Linked DNA regions of Homo sapiens: regions 1 and 2 are each linked to region 3. The links are contacts of gene promoters, found by promoter capture Hi-C in blood cells and fetal thymus (Javierre and others, 2016). All regions are on one chromosome and are shown on one strand. The core of a region is centred on a gene start or on the middle of the fragment in contact, and the rest is flanking DNA. Distances in the headings are between cores, read along the strand shown. Region 1 has its middle 96 kb from the start of NTNG2. Region 2 overlaps SETX (senataxin). Region 3 holds the start of POMT1 (protein O-mannosyltransferase 1).

Region 1 (4,627 bases), core at 1,551-4,050, 750 kb before region 3:
AAAGACGTGAGTTATCGTCACCCTGTCCTACTACACAGAAGGCATTTGCCAAGTCAAATGGCAGAAATGGCATATTCGTAGTTTGGGTGTTTGAAACTGCAGGAGGAGGAACTCTGTTGCTGTCCTGTCAGCTCAGTAGACACAGTTATCTTTGTTTTCAAGCAGCATTGCAACAGAATTGTCAGATTGGTAGTTTTCAGCCTTGAGTTTTTAACCTTAGGGAGCACATTGGGCTCACTTGGGGGCTTTTAAAAAAAATTCTGAGGTCGGGTGCGGCAGATCATCCCTGTAATCCCAGCACTTTGGGAGGCCGAGGCTGGCGGATCACCCGAGGTCAGGAGTTCGAGACCAGCCTGGCCAACATGGTGAAACCCCGTCTCTACTAAAAACACAAAATAACCGGGTGTGGTGGTGGGCGCCTGTAATCCCAGCTACTTGGGAGTCTGAGGCAGGAGAGTCGCTTGAACCCAGGAGGCGGAGGTTGCAGTGAGTAGAGATTGTGCCACTGCACTCCATCCTGGGTGACAGAGCAAGACTGTCCCAAACAACAACAACCAAAAAAAAAAAAAAAAAAAAAAAAAAAAATTCTGATTGCCTGGGATCCATCCTAGCATTACTGATTTACTGGTTTGGGGATGCAGCCCTTGGTATTCTTGTGGTGTTTTGTTTGTTTGGTGTTTGTTTTTTTGAGACGGAGTTTTGCTCTGTCACCCAGGCTGGAGTGCAGTGGTGCAATCTCGGCTCACTGCAACCTCCGCCTCCCGGGTTCAGGTGATTCTCCTGCCTCAGGCTCCCTAGTAGCTGAGATTACGGATTCCCACCACCATGCCCGGCTAATTTTTGTATTTTTAGTAGAGACGGGGTTTCACCATGTTGGCCAGGCTGGTCTCGAACTGCTGACCTCAGGTGATCCGCCTGCCTCGGCCTCCCAAAGTGCTGGGATTACAGGTGTGAGCCACCGCGCCCGGCCCCTCTTCGAAGCCTTTCGTAAACATTAACCCTAACAACACCCCGAGGTTCCCTGGATACTTTCCCTTTGCTTAGGAGAGCATTGGTGAGGACTTGGGCTGTGGGCCCATTCACCTGTGGGTCTGTGGCACGCTAGCCCGCCTGGTGCCCCTTCCTGCCTCCAGGAGGACGCAGCTGCACCCAGACGGCCAGAGCAGAGCGGGCAAGATTTCATCCTCCCCGTGCTCTTCAGCTCCTCGGCTTGTGCGGAGAACCATACACACCGCCCCCGGTGGCCGTGGGCGGGACTGCAGCTGCCCCGCCCCTGTTAGGCGGATGTGCCTGGGCCTTCACTTCAGTAACTCCCACGTGTGACCCCAAGAGACAGGACACGCAAAGCCCATGCTTCTCAAAGGGCTGGAGGCAGAAACCCAGGGTCACCCCCCCACCAGGCTCCCTCAGACACCGGCTTTGCCACTGCTGAACTAGGATCACCAGCCTCCCATCCCCCTGCCCCTCTTCAGACCCCTGAAGCCGTAAGAGTCATTCCCCTGCCTCCTGCCTTAGCAGAACTGGGGCTCACCCTGCAGCCATTATTTATTATACACTCGCACCCACACACATGTGGAGTGCCCCTGCCTGGCTCACTTCTGTCTGCAATTCCTGGGCTCTCCAGCCTGGCCCCCTAGAATGTTCTTCATCCTTTTACCAGGCTCAGCTAGGAGGCCTCCCTGGGGAAGCTGGTCCCTGTCTGAAGAGGCCCATCTGCCACACTCTGACCCTGGCCCCACATCCCTTAGCCGGCTCCCAGGGCCAGAGCACAGTACGCCTTCCGCAGACAGGTGATGTTTCTTGTTATTTATTTTTTTATGTTGAGACCGAGTCTCGCTCTGTCGCCCAAGCTGGAATGCAGTGGCGCGATCTCGGCTCACTGCAACCTCCACCTCCCAGGTTCAAGCGATTCTCCTGCCTCAGCCTCCCGAGTAACTGGGATTACAGGCACGGGCCACCACGCCCGGCTAATTTTTGTATTTTTAGTAGAGACAGGGTTTCACCATGTTGATTAGCCTGGTCTCGAGTTCCTGACCTCGTGATCCACCCACCTCGGCCTCCCAAAGTGCTAGGATTACAGGCGTGAGCCACCACACCAGGCCTCTTGTGTTTTTTTTTTTTTAATTTCATAAAATATTTTCTTACAGGCTCCAGTAAACCTTCACCAATTTACATCAGTTCCTATTCCTCACCAGCAAGAGAACAAAATAGACGGCTACAGGTGAATTTGCAATATCATTTTTACAGAAGGCTGATTAGCAGTTAACACAGTAAGGGGTCCACGTCGATTGACTTCCCAGAGCTGGGCCAACACGGCAGGGTCCTAGATGCTTTCCCTGGGGATCTTCACTCCTTGGAAACTCACGTGTGGTTTAAGCAAAGCATTTCCACGGTAGCCTCACGTTCTTGAGTATCCACATCGGTACTGCTGAGACCACCGTGCCACTGATGGGGACAGCCGAGAAGTCTTTAGTTCATGTCTTTTGCCCAGCAGTGTCCTTTTCCCACTCTTTTTCTGTTAAGCTCTAAAATCTCTTCCAGCCTCTGGGTGAGGGAAGGTTGGTAAGCACACTTCATGCCCTCATCACATTGTTCTCTTTTGTGTATACCTCGTTCTCCATCTCGCCCCTCCCTGTCCAAGCTCCACAATTTAAAAACACTGAGTCCATCACGAGGTCTGTTTGTCTCAGTGGTCAAGGTGGACTCAGCCCCTGCCGGGATGGACCTCACTGTGGGAGAGTGGGACTGGCGGTTATAACACACCCAGGCTTTGCTTTCATGAAGGGCCTGCAGTCAGTCTCAGGTCCTTCCCAGTGCCTTGGTGAACTTGGACCATCTGGTCTCTCCTCTTCCCTTTCAATGACACAGAGCAGCTGGAGTTTCCTAAAACAAGACTGTATCCTGTCCTTCAGATAAGGATGCGTTCTAAGACCTCTCCTTCTCGTCATCTTTTCTGTTTTTGAGGCAGCTGTTTGTTTCTTTGTTTGTTTTGTTTGTTTTTTGAGATGGCGTCTTCGTCTGTCGCCCAGGCTGGAGTGCAGTGGCGCGATCTCGGCCTCCTGTTATTTTTTTAAAGGGAGCTATTTCACGCATACAGAGTAGGATAATAATAGTATAAGGAACACCCTGTACCCACCATTCCTGTTTCTTTACCTTAGATCTTTTACTTTTTAAGGAAATAAATGAAGAACTATAGATACAGTTGGAGCCCTGTGGCATGCTCTGTCCCTCTCTCCCTTTGCAGAAGTGACATGAGCCTGAGACCTCACTACATATGTGCGCAGCCATCATGTTTTCTTGGTGTGTTTTTAGCCCTCATATGAAAAGTGTTATACTGCATCCACCTTTCTGTGATATAGATTTTCCACCCAGCACTATGTTTTAAGATTTATCCATGAGGATTCATATGGCTCTAATGTGGTTCTTTTTGTTTGTTTGAGACGGAGTCTCGCTCTGTTGCCCAGGCTGGAGTGCAGTGGCGTGTTCAAGCAATTCCCAGGTTACTCCCAGGTTCCGCCTCCCAGGTTCAAGCAATTCTCCTGCCTCAGCCTCCTGAACAGCTAGGATTACAGGCGGCTGCCACCACGCCCGGCTAATTTTTGTATTTTTAGTAGAGACGGGGTTTCACCATGTTGACCAGGCTGGTCTTGAACTCCTGACCCCAAGTGATCCGCCCACCTGGGCATCCCAAAGTGCTAGGATTACAGGCGTGAGCCACTGTGCCCTGTCTAATGTGGTTCTTAGTTGGGCAATTCTGCCCCCTCAGGGGGACATTTGACAATATGTAGAGACATCTGTGGTTGTCACACGGGAGGATGCTATGGCGTCTCATGGGTAGAGGCTAGGGGTGCTGCTGAGCATCCTACTATAGGCAGGACAGTCCCCACGACAGGGTTATCCAGTCCCACGTGTCAGCCAGGCTCAGGGTGAGGATTCCTCTGCAGTTCACTCATTGGAAGAGCTAGAGAATTCCAGCATGGGAGCGGGCCACACATCCAGCTTCTCGGTCCTATGTGTTTGGGTTGTTTCCATTTTTCACTATTTTACTACTTTGGTGATCACTCTTGGCCGGGCGCGGTGGCTTACACCTGTAATCCCAGCACTTTGGGAGGCTGAGGCATGTGGATCACAAGGTCAGGAGTCGGAGACCATCCTGGCCAACATGGTGAAACCCTGTCTCTACTAAAAATACAAAAATTACCCGGGTGTGGTGGCGTGCACCTGCAATCTCAGCTACTTGGGAGGCTGAGGCAGGAGAACTGCTTGAACCCAGGAGGTGGAGGTTGCACTGAGCCAAGATTGCACCACTGCACTCCAGACTGGGCAACGGAGTGAGACTCCATTTCAAAAAAAAGAAAAAAAAGAAAAATTCTCCAAATATTTTCCATGTTAATCTTTTAAGTATCACATTTATTTCCAATATTTTATCTTGCTCTGTGGCTTGTGCTTCTTTACTGATGTCTTTTGTTGTACAGAAGGTTTTTATTTTATTTTATTTTTGAGATGAAGTCTCGCTCTGTTGCCCAGGCTGGAATGGAGTGGCGTGATCTCGGCTTACTGCAACCTCCACCTCCCAAGTTCAAGAGATTGTCATGCCTCAGCCTCCCAAGTAGCTGGGATTACAGGC
Region 2 (4,506 bases), core at 1,498-3,997, 780 kb before region 3:
AATGAAATGTGTATTTTTTACTAATAACATAGATTATTTATACAGATAATTGAGCAGTGGCTTCATAAATAATCCTAGAGAACAGATCATTTTCAAAGCATTTTTGTTGAAGCTTGGAATGAATGCAGGTGGTTATCGTTAGTGGTTTTTGATTTCGGAATTATTCAGAATGATAGTGCAGTTCTTTGTATGACATTTGAGCGCAGGTACATGATCATGTTAGAGTGTGGCCCAGAAGCACACCCGTCACCCAGTGAAAACCCGTGTGTGTAGGGAAGAACTGCTGCAGGTAACTTTGTTCACGGAGAATAATGAAGAGCAAATTCTGTATCCCATTTCTTTAAATGATGCAGGATTTCATTGAAGGGCCTTGGCATATAGTGAAAAGAGAGATTGTTAATGGGCCTCAACTTTACTGCCTACTTCAATGATTGATAAAAACAACAAAAATTAGAAAAAAAAAATCCATTTGTGCTGTTTAAATTGTTGTACAAATAAAACAGGCTATTTTGAGAAAATAATTACAAAGTTCATTTCCATAAGGTGCCTTTTTTGACCACCTGTTTCTAGTGGTAATTACAGTGAAAGTGAGTATTTTTAACAGATATTGCTAGGCATTTGTGTGTTTATTCGTCTTTTTCAGTATGTATATATTGAGTGCCACCATAATTCAGGCACTGTTTAGGGGCTGGGGTTATGACAGTGAAGAAAACAGACAAAATCCCTGCCCTTATGGTGTTTGTATTCTAGGGGTTAACAGTGAGTCAGTTACTAAAAAGTGGTATATGGTTTGTATACATGTATATGTTTATGTGTATATGTACGTGGGTTTGGTTTTGTTTAAAGGTGGCAAAATCATTCTGTGCAGAATTGGTTTTTTTTTCAATCAGTAAATCAGGGACATCCTCCCATGTCAGAATATATATTAATAAATCTATGTCATTTGTAGAATGGACTAAGGTTTTGTCTGGAGGTAGATGCGTTACCTTACATAACTTCCTTTTCTGTTTCCCCAAAGAAAAGATTAAAAATTAGGTTTTGTGAGCTAACGCAGATAAACTTTTGAGGATTTAGGGAAAATTGGCATGTATCTATTAATAATTATTTTATGCTTTCACAAACCTGTTTAAAATCACACATATAAATAGGTTAAGAAGTAATGCCTTTCTTCCACTCCCATAGTTTGTGAAACAAGTTTATTCAGGCTTTGCACGTCTTCAGTGCCAGTATCTTTCACATCACTCATGAAGATTCCATCATCTTAGTGAAGTTTTCAGCACATTTTTACTTCAGGGTTATTTAAGATAAAGTACTTTTTGAAACTTTTCTTTTTTAATTATACTTTAAGTTCTAGGGTACATGTTCACAACATGCAGGTTTGTTACATATGTATACATGTGCCATGTTGGTGTGCTGCACCCATTAACTCGTCATTTACATTAGGTGTATCTCCTAATGCTATCCCTCCCCCTCCCCTTTTTGAAACTTTCTGTGTTGCTGCCATCGGAAAGTAGATCCCAAGGCACAACTGTGGTAACATCAAGACAGTTTATCCCACTTGTCACTTAGGTCACTGTTTTTCAGATTGCAGAATATAACCCATTATTTGGTTTGTGAAATCCATTTAGCACAGCTTCGGCGTTCCTAATTCAAAAATTTGAAATGCTTCACCATCTGAAACTTCCCAAGTGCTGACTTTATGCTTAAAGTTCACGCTCGAAGGATATGCTCATTGGAGTATTTTGGATTTTTGGATTAGGGATGGTCAACACATAAGTCGAGTCTGTTTCCTTCACTGGAAATTAAGTCCTGTGAGACTTCATCTTATTCACTCTAGTGGTCTTAGCACTTCAAATTATAGATGCTTAGTACATATTAGATGGATGAATGAAGAATTTTGTCTTCAAAAGGCTTGTTTACAGTGGCATTCAATATGTCTGTCTGTGAGGGTGTACCCCCAGAAATAATTGTTAAAATCTGTGTTACATTTCCTTTATTACTGGTTTTTTTGGGTGGCGTCTTGTAGCATCAAAATAGCATCAGTTGTCTTTCACAAGATCATATCTCTTTCATTAGCAGTATATGAGTAGAAAAGACCTCCACATATATTCAAGATTCATGGCATTTTGGCCAGGTGTGGTGGCTCATTCCTGTTATCCCAGCTACTCAGGAGGCCAGAGACATGAGAATCGCTTGAACCTGGGAGGTGAAGGATGCAGTGAGCTGAGATCACGCCACTGCACTCCAGCCTGGGTGACAGAGCGAGACTGTGTCTCCAAAAAAAAAAAAAAAAAAAAAAAAAAAAAAAAAAGATTCATGGCATTTTGAGGCTCAGAGTCAGAAACACCTTTTTTCTCTGAAGCTGTGGTTGGTAATCTTATGCTACCTGAACGTTGCCATATACGTATTAGATCTCAGTAATTGTGTTTATAATAGTGGGAAAGATATAAATGAATTCTTGGAAACTGTTGCTTTATTTTGCCCCTCACAGAAAGCACAGGAGTATGGCTACGACCAGTCAATGATGGCTCGCTTCTGCAGACTGCTGGAAGAGAATGTAGAACACAACATGATCAGCAGGCTGCCCATTCTACAGCTCACTGTTCAGTACAGGATGCATCCAGACATATGCCTCTTCCCTTCTAATTATGTTTATAACAGAAACTTAAAAACAAATAGGTGAGTTCCCCTTATTGTTTGTGACCTTATTTTGTTGTAGTTTAGCTACTTATGAAGAATAGACATTTTACTGTCGTCTTAGGTCTTGTCATAAAAAGCATAAATCATGAAGGGTTAATAATTTTGTCCTGTTATAATAGCCATCATGTTGAATACAGCAAAGCACATAAAAAAGAAAAGGGGAAAAAGTCACCTATATTTATACTACCCAGAAATAATCACTGGTAACATTTTGGTATATCCACTTTCAGCAGTCCTTTTTTTTTTTTTTTTTTTTTTTGAAGACAGGGTCTCATTCTGTCACTCACACAGGATGAGTGCAGTGGCACACAGTCCTGGCTCACTGCAGCTTCGACCTCCCAGGCTCAATCAATCCACCTGCCTCAGCCTCCTGAGTAGCTGGGACTACACTCAGTCACCACCATGCCTGGCTAATTTTTGTATTTTTCTTTTTGTAGAAACGGGGTTTCGCTATGTTGCCCAGGCTGCTTTCGAACTCCTGAGCTCAAGCAATCCACCCGCCTTGGTCTCCCAAAGTGCTGGGATTACAGGCGAGAGTCACCGCACCTGGCCAAGTTTCAGTCCTTTTACTATGCATATCTTTTTTTACTTTTTAAATTTTTGAAGGAAAAATGTGGGACCATACTTAACATAGTATTCTGTGGCTTACTCTATTATGAGTGTCTTTCCAATCATACTTGTTATATTTTAATGATATAGACACCTCTCCCAGCACCAGGAAAGAAATAGAATTTGTTTTGTACCTTTCACTAATACACGTCTAGAAAAGAATATTCCTGCTATCCCCTTACTTGCCCCAGCCCACATCACCACACAGAAAAAATTGTAGTAATACCAAGATATTTTCTTAAATCTTGACTTTATTCTGAATGTTGACTGCTTTTTTTTTTTTACAGACAGACAGAAGCCATTCGATGTTCATCAGATTGGCCATTTCAGCCATACCTTGTGTTTGATGTTGGAGATGGTTCAGAAAGACGGGATAATGAGTATGTTTTCCTCTTGCCTCAGTCCTCTGATAGTCCCAGAATTGTTACATGATTTGCATTCATATTTCTGTTAAATACATTTCCTATACACATCTCTCTGCCTAGTGTCAGGGCACAGTCATGTTCACTTAAGTTGATGCTTCTTTTTTCTGTATAATGGGGATAATATTACCTAATGTCATAAGCAAGTGCTTGAGTAGATACTTGTTGAGCTCACAGCAGTGAGGGAAACAGACGTGCCCATTGCAAGATGGTGGTCTCATGGGAAGACAGGCCTTCAGCAGGTCATCACCTGGGTAAGCAGTTATTCCAGTTGGGTTAAGTACTGTGAAGGCTAAGTATAAATTCAGTTGAATGAAAATGTGAAAGGGAGGAAGGAAGTAGTGACAGAGGTTGGATGGTATTGGGTTGTGAATAAGGGCATGTGTTCAGGTGGTCTGTATATGACAGCAAAGAGGAGTGGTGTTGCTAGAAGCAGCAATGTCAGAGGAGCTGGGGATTCTTGTGAGAGAGTAGGGGAGGAATGGTCTAGGGGCAGCATTTGTTGGCACGGATACAAGTGCCACTCTGTCATGAAGTAGGAGGAAACACAAATCCCACTTCTACATCATGGGATGGCTGCAGAGCAGGTGGCGTCCTCAGGCGAGAATCAGGCGTTAGATAAGATACAGAGGTGGAAGTAGGGAACACTCATTGAAGAGGTTACACATACAGAGGAGTTGTTGGCCATGGGATTGTAGTGCTGGAGGGACTGCAGCCTAAAGGTTTTAATGAGGCCTCTTGGAGGAGAGCAGAGGATTGCGAGTTAAGCCGCAGA
Region 3 (4,320 bases), core at 614-3,113:
ACACACACACACACACACACACACATACACACATTAATCAGTTAATAAAGAGCCCTTCAATAATAACAGCAATCACTTCCCATTATGACAAAAACACATTCTAAAAAGTGCTCTCAACAGTGAAGACTTACTTCCAAATCCATTAATCCTCTGCCGTCCAGACTTTAAAACTGTTACTTAAGGCTGGCAACCAGATTTTCCTCTACTGCACCCCTTTAATGGGCCAAATTTCACCTGTTACAGACTCAGAAGGCAAGACCTAAAAGGTGTACTCTGCTGGGGCTGTCCTGGGGACAGACTGGTCTCTCCTCTCACTGCCAAAAACACCTATCACCAAGAAGCCAGGATTTCACTCTCCCATTTATGCTATTCAGTAAGGGCGCCTCCTGTCACAAAGTACAATTCTAGATTCACCCTGGGAATGGAGTCATTTAGCTTACACCACAGCCCGCGGGTAGGTGAGTCGCCACAGCCGGCTCAGTAACCCCATCCCAGTCAGGGCCACAAGGCTCAAGTTGATGTCAGCCGTCACCACTACAGGGCGCTTCAAAAATCCCCACATCTTGTAGAAAAGCGGGCTCAGGCAGACGCCCTAGAAAAGAAGGGAGGAGCCGTGGTCCATGAGGGCTCACGAGAGGCTACAGAAGGGATCCCCAGCCACCCGGCTCCCGGACACACGAGGAGAACCACAGCACAGCCGGGCTGCTGAGAAAGACCGAAGTTCCTGGAGCCTTGGTTCAGGTAGACATGTGGGGTGAGGGGCACTAGCAGTGAACTCGGGTGGGAATTCAGGGGATCTCAGGACTGGACATTCACTCCTTTCAACAACTCATTCCACAAAACCTGCCGAGCACGTCTTGGGCGCGAGAACACTGCTAAGGAACGCCAGGGTTTCTCCCCTCCCTCCCCGACGACCAGAAGCCCACAGTGCGGCCACAGCTACCTGACCCTGGGCAGCTCCTGGGTGCCATCTCAGCTGCTTACAGCCCAGGGACCCCAACCTGGCCGAGCCTCGGGGCCTCCTCATCTCTCCTCAAGGATGCATCTGCCCCCAGTGCCTCCCTGCCTTCTATCCCAGCGGCACATCATCCCCGGGTGCTCCCTTTCTCGCCTGGAGGGTGCATTTGCACCCTGCGCCCCCACGTTCTCCTCCAGGCTTCATCTTCCCTTGAGCTCCGCTTCTCTTGAGGCTGCATCAGGCCTGGGACACCCTGTCTCACACCAAAGCCGCATCTGGCCGTTGGCGCCCCGCTGGTCTCCTCAGGCCCCATCTACCCTGGACGCGCCCTTCCCTCCCTGAGCTGCATCTGCCTTGAGCGCCTTCGTCCCAAAAGGTCCCATCTGTCCTGGGAGTGCCTCCTCTCCCCTTGCAGACCGCATCTCCCTGGCCGGCCCTTCTTCCCCACAGGCCGCACCTGTCCCGTCCACCAACTCCCGAGGCTGCGTCGGCCCCAGCTCCGTCCTCACCCTGAGACTGCACCCGCAGCACGCCCTTCCTCCCTAGGGCTGCACGCGCCACGGAGTTCTTACTTCGGGGCTCGGCCGCCCGAACGCCGCATCTGCCCGGGCCCGAACCCCGCCCCCAGCTCCGGAAAGACGGGGACGCCCCCGGCCCCAGCCCGTCCGCAAGCCAGGGACCCGCGTCCGGCACTGACGGACTCCCCCAAGTCCGGGCTGGGCTCTCGTCCCCGGTGTCCCCAAATGTACCCGCGTTTCTCCGAGTCCACACAGAGCCGCGCCCGGCTCCCGGCAACGCCTCGGAACCGTCCGACTGGGCCGACGGTTGGGGGTGAGGCCGCTCGGCACTCCGCACCACCCACCGCCCTGCTCAACGTTCGATTCACCGAGCCTGCGGGGCCAGACGGGCAGCAGCGCGCGTGCGCACTGGGAGAGGGTGACGCGCGTGCGCAGCGGGCGAGGGCGCCGGTCCCGGAGGAGAGGCAGGTGTGAAACGCGGCGACCTCCCCTCTCTCGGGTGCTACTGTTTTGTGTGCCAGGATTTCTGTGTACTCTAAGCAGACGTGCAGATTTTAAAAAGCGCAGTGGGCTCCCACCCATCTTCTGCTCCTTGCTTTTTCACTCCATCTGGCGTGAAGATCTTAATTCTGCGTCTGCACAACGGCGTTCTGCCGGGCGCGCCAGTTTGCTCCTAGTTTTTTTCTTTTCTTTTCTTTTCTTTTTTTTTGAGACGGAGTTTCGCTCTTGTTGCCCAGGCTGGAGTGCAATGGCGCGATCTCGGCTCACCGCAACCTCCGCTTCCCGGGTTCAAGCGATTCTCCTGCCTCAGCCTCCCGAGTAGCTGAGATTGAAGGCGCACGCCACCACGCCCGGTTAATTTTTGTATTTGTAGTAGAGACAGGGTTTCACCATGTTGGCCAGGCTGGTCTCGAACTCCTGACCTGAAGTGATCCGCCCACCTCGGCCTCCCAAAGTGCTGGGATTACAGGCGTGAGCCACTGCGTCCGACCTTAATTTTTTTTTTAAGACACGGGGTCTCGCTCTGTCGCCCAGGCTGGAGTACAGTGGCAGGACCACGGCTTGCTGCAGCCTCGACCTCTCTGCCCGAAGCGATCCTCCCTCCTCGGCCTCCAGAGCAGCTGAGACCACAGGCACGTGCCCCCACGCCCGCGGGCGCTCCTAGTTTCCTTGCCGAAAAACATCGATGCCACGATCCTGCTTGCACATACATCTAGCGGTGAAGTGGCTGAGGGTAAGGGCATTTAAAACGGACCTAGGGCCGGGGGCGGTGGCTCACGCCTGTAACCCCAGCACTTTGGGTGGCCGAGGTGGGAGGATCCGTGAGCCCGCTTGAGTCCAGGAGAGCCTGGGCAACACAGCGAGACCCCGTCTCTACAAAAAAATACAAAAATTAGCGGGGCCCCTTGGCGTCTGCCTGCAGTCCCAGCTACAAGGGAGGCTGAGGCAGGAGATCACTTGGGGCAGAGAGGTCGAGGCTGCAGTGAGCCTTGGTCTCACCACTGCACTCCAGCCTGGACTACAAAGTGAGACCGTCTCAAAACAAAAAACAAAACCAAAAAAACCTGGACATCAGTGGGGGCTGCATGACCATCAGAGGCTCCAGTGGGGGCATCTCCCCTAAACTCCGTGGCAGAAGACTGGAGGCTTCTTCCTCCATTCCCAGGGCTCCTCCTCATCCATCAGCCTCTCCAGCCCCCTCTGCTGAGGGTCAAGAGCCTTCCCAAAGGCCTGCTTTGGAGCAGACATGGTACTTTTGGTTGGGTCAATGCACCCCTTCCCATGTTTTCCCTGAACAGTCGGCACCCAGAGCAGGGTAACTGACAGCAACGCAACCAGGCTGATGGATCACTCTTCTCAGCCTCGCTCCTTCTTGATCTCCTGGTCTATTTGTATGTTAATCTATACAGACCAAAAGGGCACACTGCAGGTTTAATAACCTTCATTATGGTTCTTGGCTGCCTGCAAGACTTTTTTTCCATGTTGGGCAACATAGCATTAGATGACACCAGTTAGAATTTCGTGGTTACTTCTTTATGGCTTACCCTTGAGGGGTTATGTGACTCACCCAAGATCCCACAGAGAGGCAAGGAGCTGGGGCTCACCTGGGTTTGTGGCCAGAGCCTGCAGGCAACTGTATTTACAGTGGGCAGGGAGGGTTCCCTGGGCCCCAGGAGGGAGTGGGGCTGGGCTGTTAAGCTTTGGTTCATGCCATGCTAACAGTGGTGGTGCCTCAGGACTTACAGCCTCCATCTTGCAAGCCCCCAACCTTAGGACTAGCCTCTTTCAGGGCTGGTCTCCGTTTGAGATTTTGTGAGCCACCTGTCCCTAGGGAGCAGTAAATCAGGGCAGTGAGTGTGGCTAGTTAAAGCTGAGATGCCCATGGCCAGGTCCCCAACTCTCTTCCATAGTCAAAAGGCTTAGAAGGAAGTTGAGGGACTGGGGTTCCTCATGGAAACAGCGTTTTATTTCTTGGGGGTAATTTATAAGTTTTCTTAGCTGGTTCTAGGCACTAAGCTAAAAGCTACTGGTGACTTTGAATCCACACTACGCCATGAGGTCGATACCATTACAATCTGTGTTTTATGATTAAGGAGACTGACTCAGGTGGTGAAACGTCTTTCCCCAGGTCAGTGAGGCAATGGCAAAACCGAGAACTGCTGCCTCAGCCCATTCTTACCTTTTACCCTTCGCTACCCCAGGCCTGGCTTGCTCCCTCCCCACCCCAAAGCACAGCATAATCCTCCTCCACTTCCTGCAAAAGCACCGCTAGAAGTGACAACACAACACGCCACATCAAATGCTTACCTCCTCTGACCAGCTCGTTTCTCACGGCAAGTGACG

The links. Contacts are between HindIII fragments. The CHiCAGO score rates a contact against its expected background, and 5 or more counts as called.
Region 1: a contact is called between a fragment that was not itself captured here and the fragment with the promoter of POMT1 in region 3, in 1 of 17 cell types (M0 macrophages). The highest score is 5.0, in M0 macrophages.
Region 2: a fragment that was not itself captured here is called in contact with the fragment with the promoter of POMT1 in region 3 in 1 of 17 cell types (M2 macrophages); the score reaches 5.9 in M2 macrophages.

What each region holds. Positions count from the first base shown.
Region 1 is chr9:132,255,976-132,260,602 of GRCh38, reverse strand. No RefSeq gene overlaps it. Among named protein-coding and RNA genes, the nearest start is that of NTNG2, 96 kb to the right of the region's middle. The HindIII fragment of the contact is 7,993 bases long and covers 1-4,627 here.
Region 2 is chr9:132,276,243-132,280,748 of GRCh38, reverse strand. SETX (senataxin) reads left to right here. Exons shown (of 26, transcript NM_015046.7): 21 at 2,492-2,679; 22 at 3,597-3,689. Among named protein-coding and RNA genes, the nearest start is that of SETX, 76 kb to the left of the region's middle. The HindIII fragment of the contact is 5,265 bases long and covers 115-4,506 here.
Region 3 is chr9:131,500,461-131,504,780 of GRCh38, reverse strand. POMT1 (protein O-mannosyltransferase 1) reads right to left here and starts at 1,863. Exons shown (of 20, transcript NM_001077365.2): 1 at 1,708-1,863; 2 at 441-592. The coding sequence starts at 562. RefSeq lists enhancers at 273-342, 353-432, 913-972, 344-1,209, 1,210-2,077 and 1 more and silencers at 1,543-1,692, 1,763-1,962. The HindIII fragment of the contact is 12,581 bases long and covers 1-3,677 here.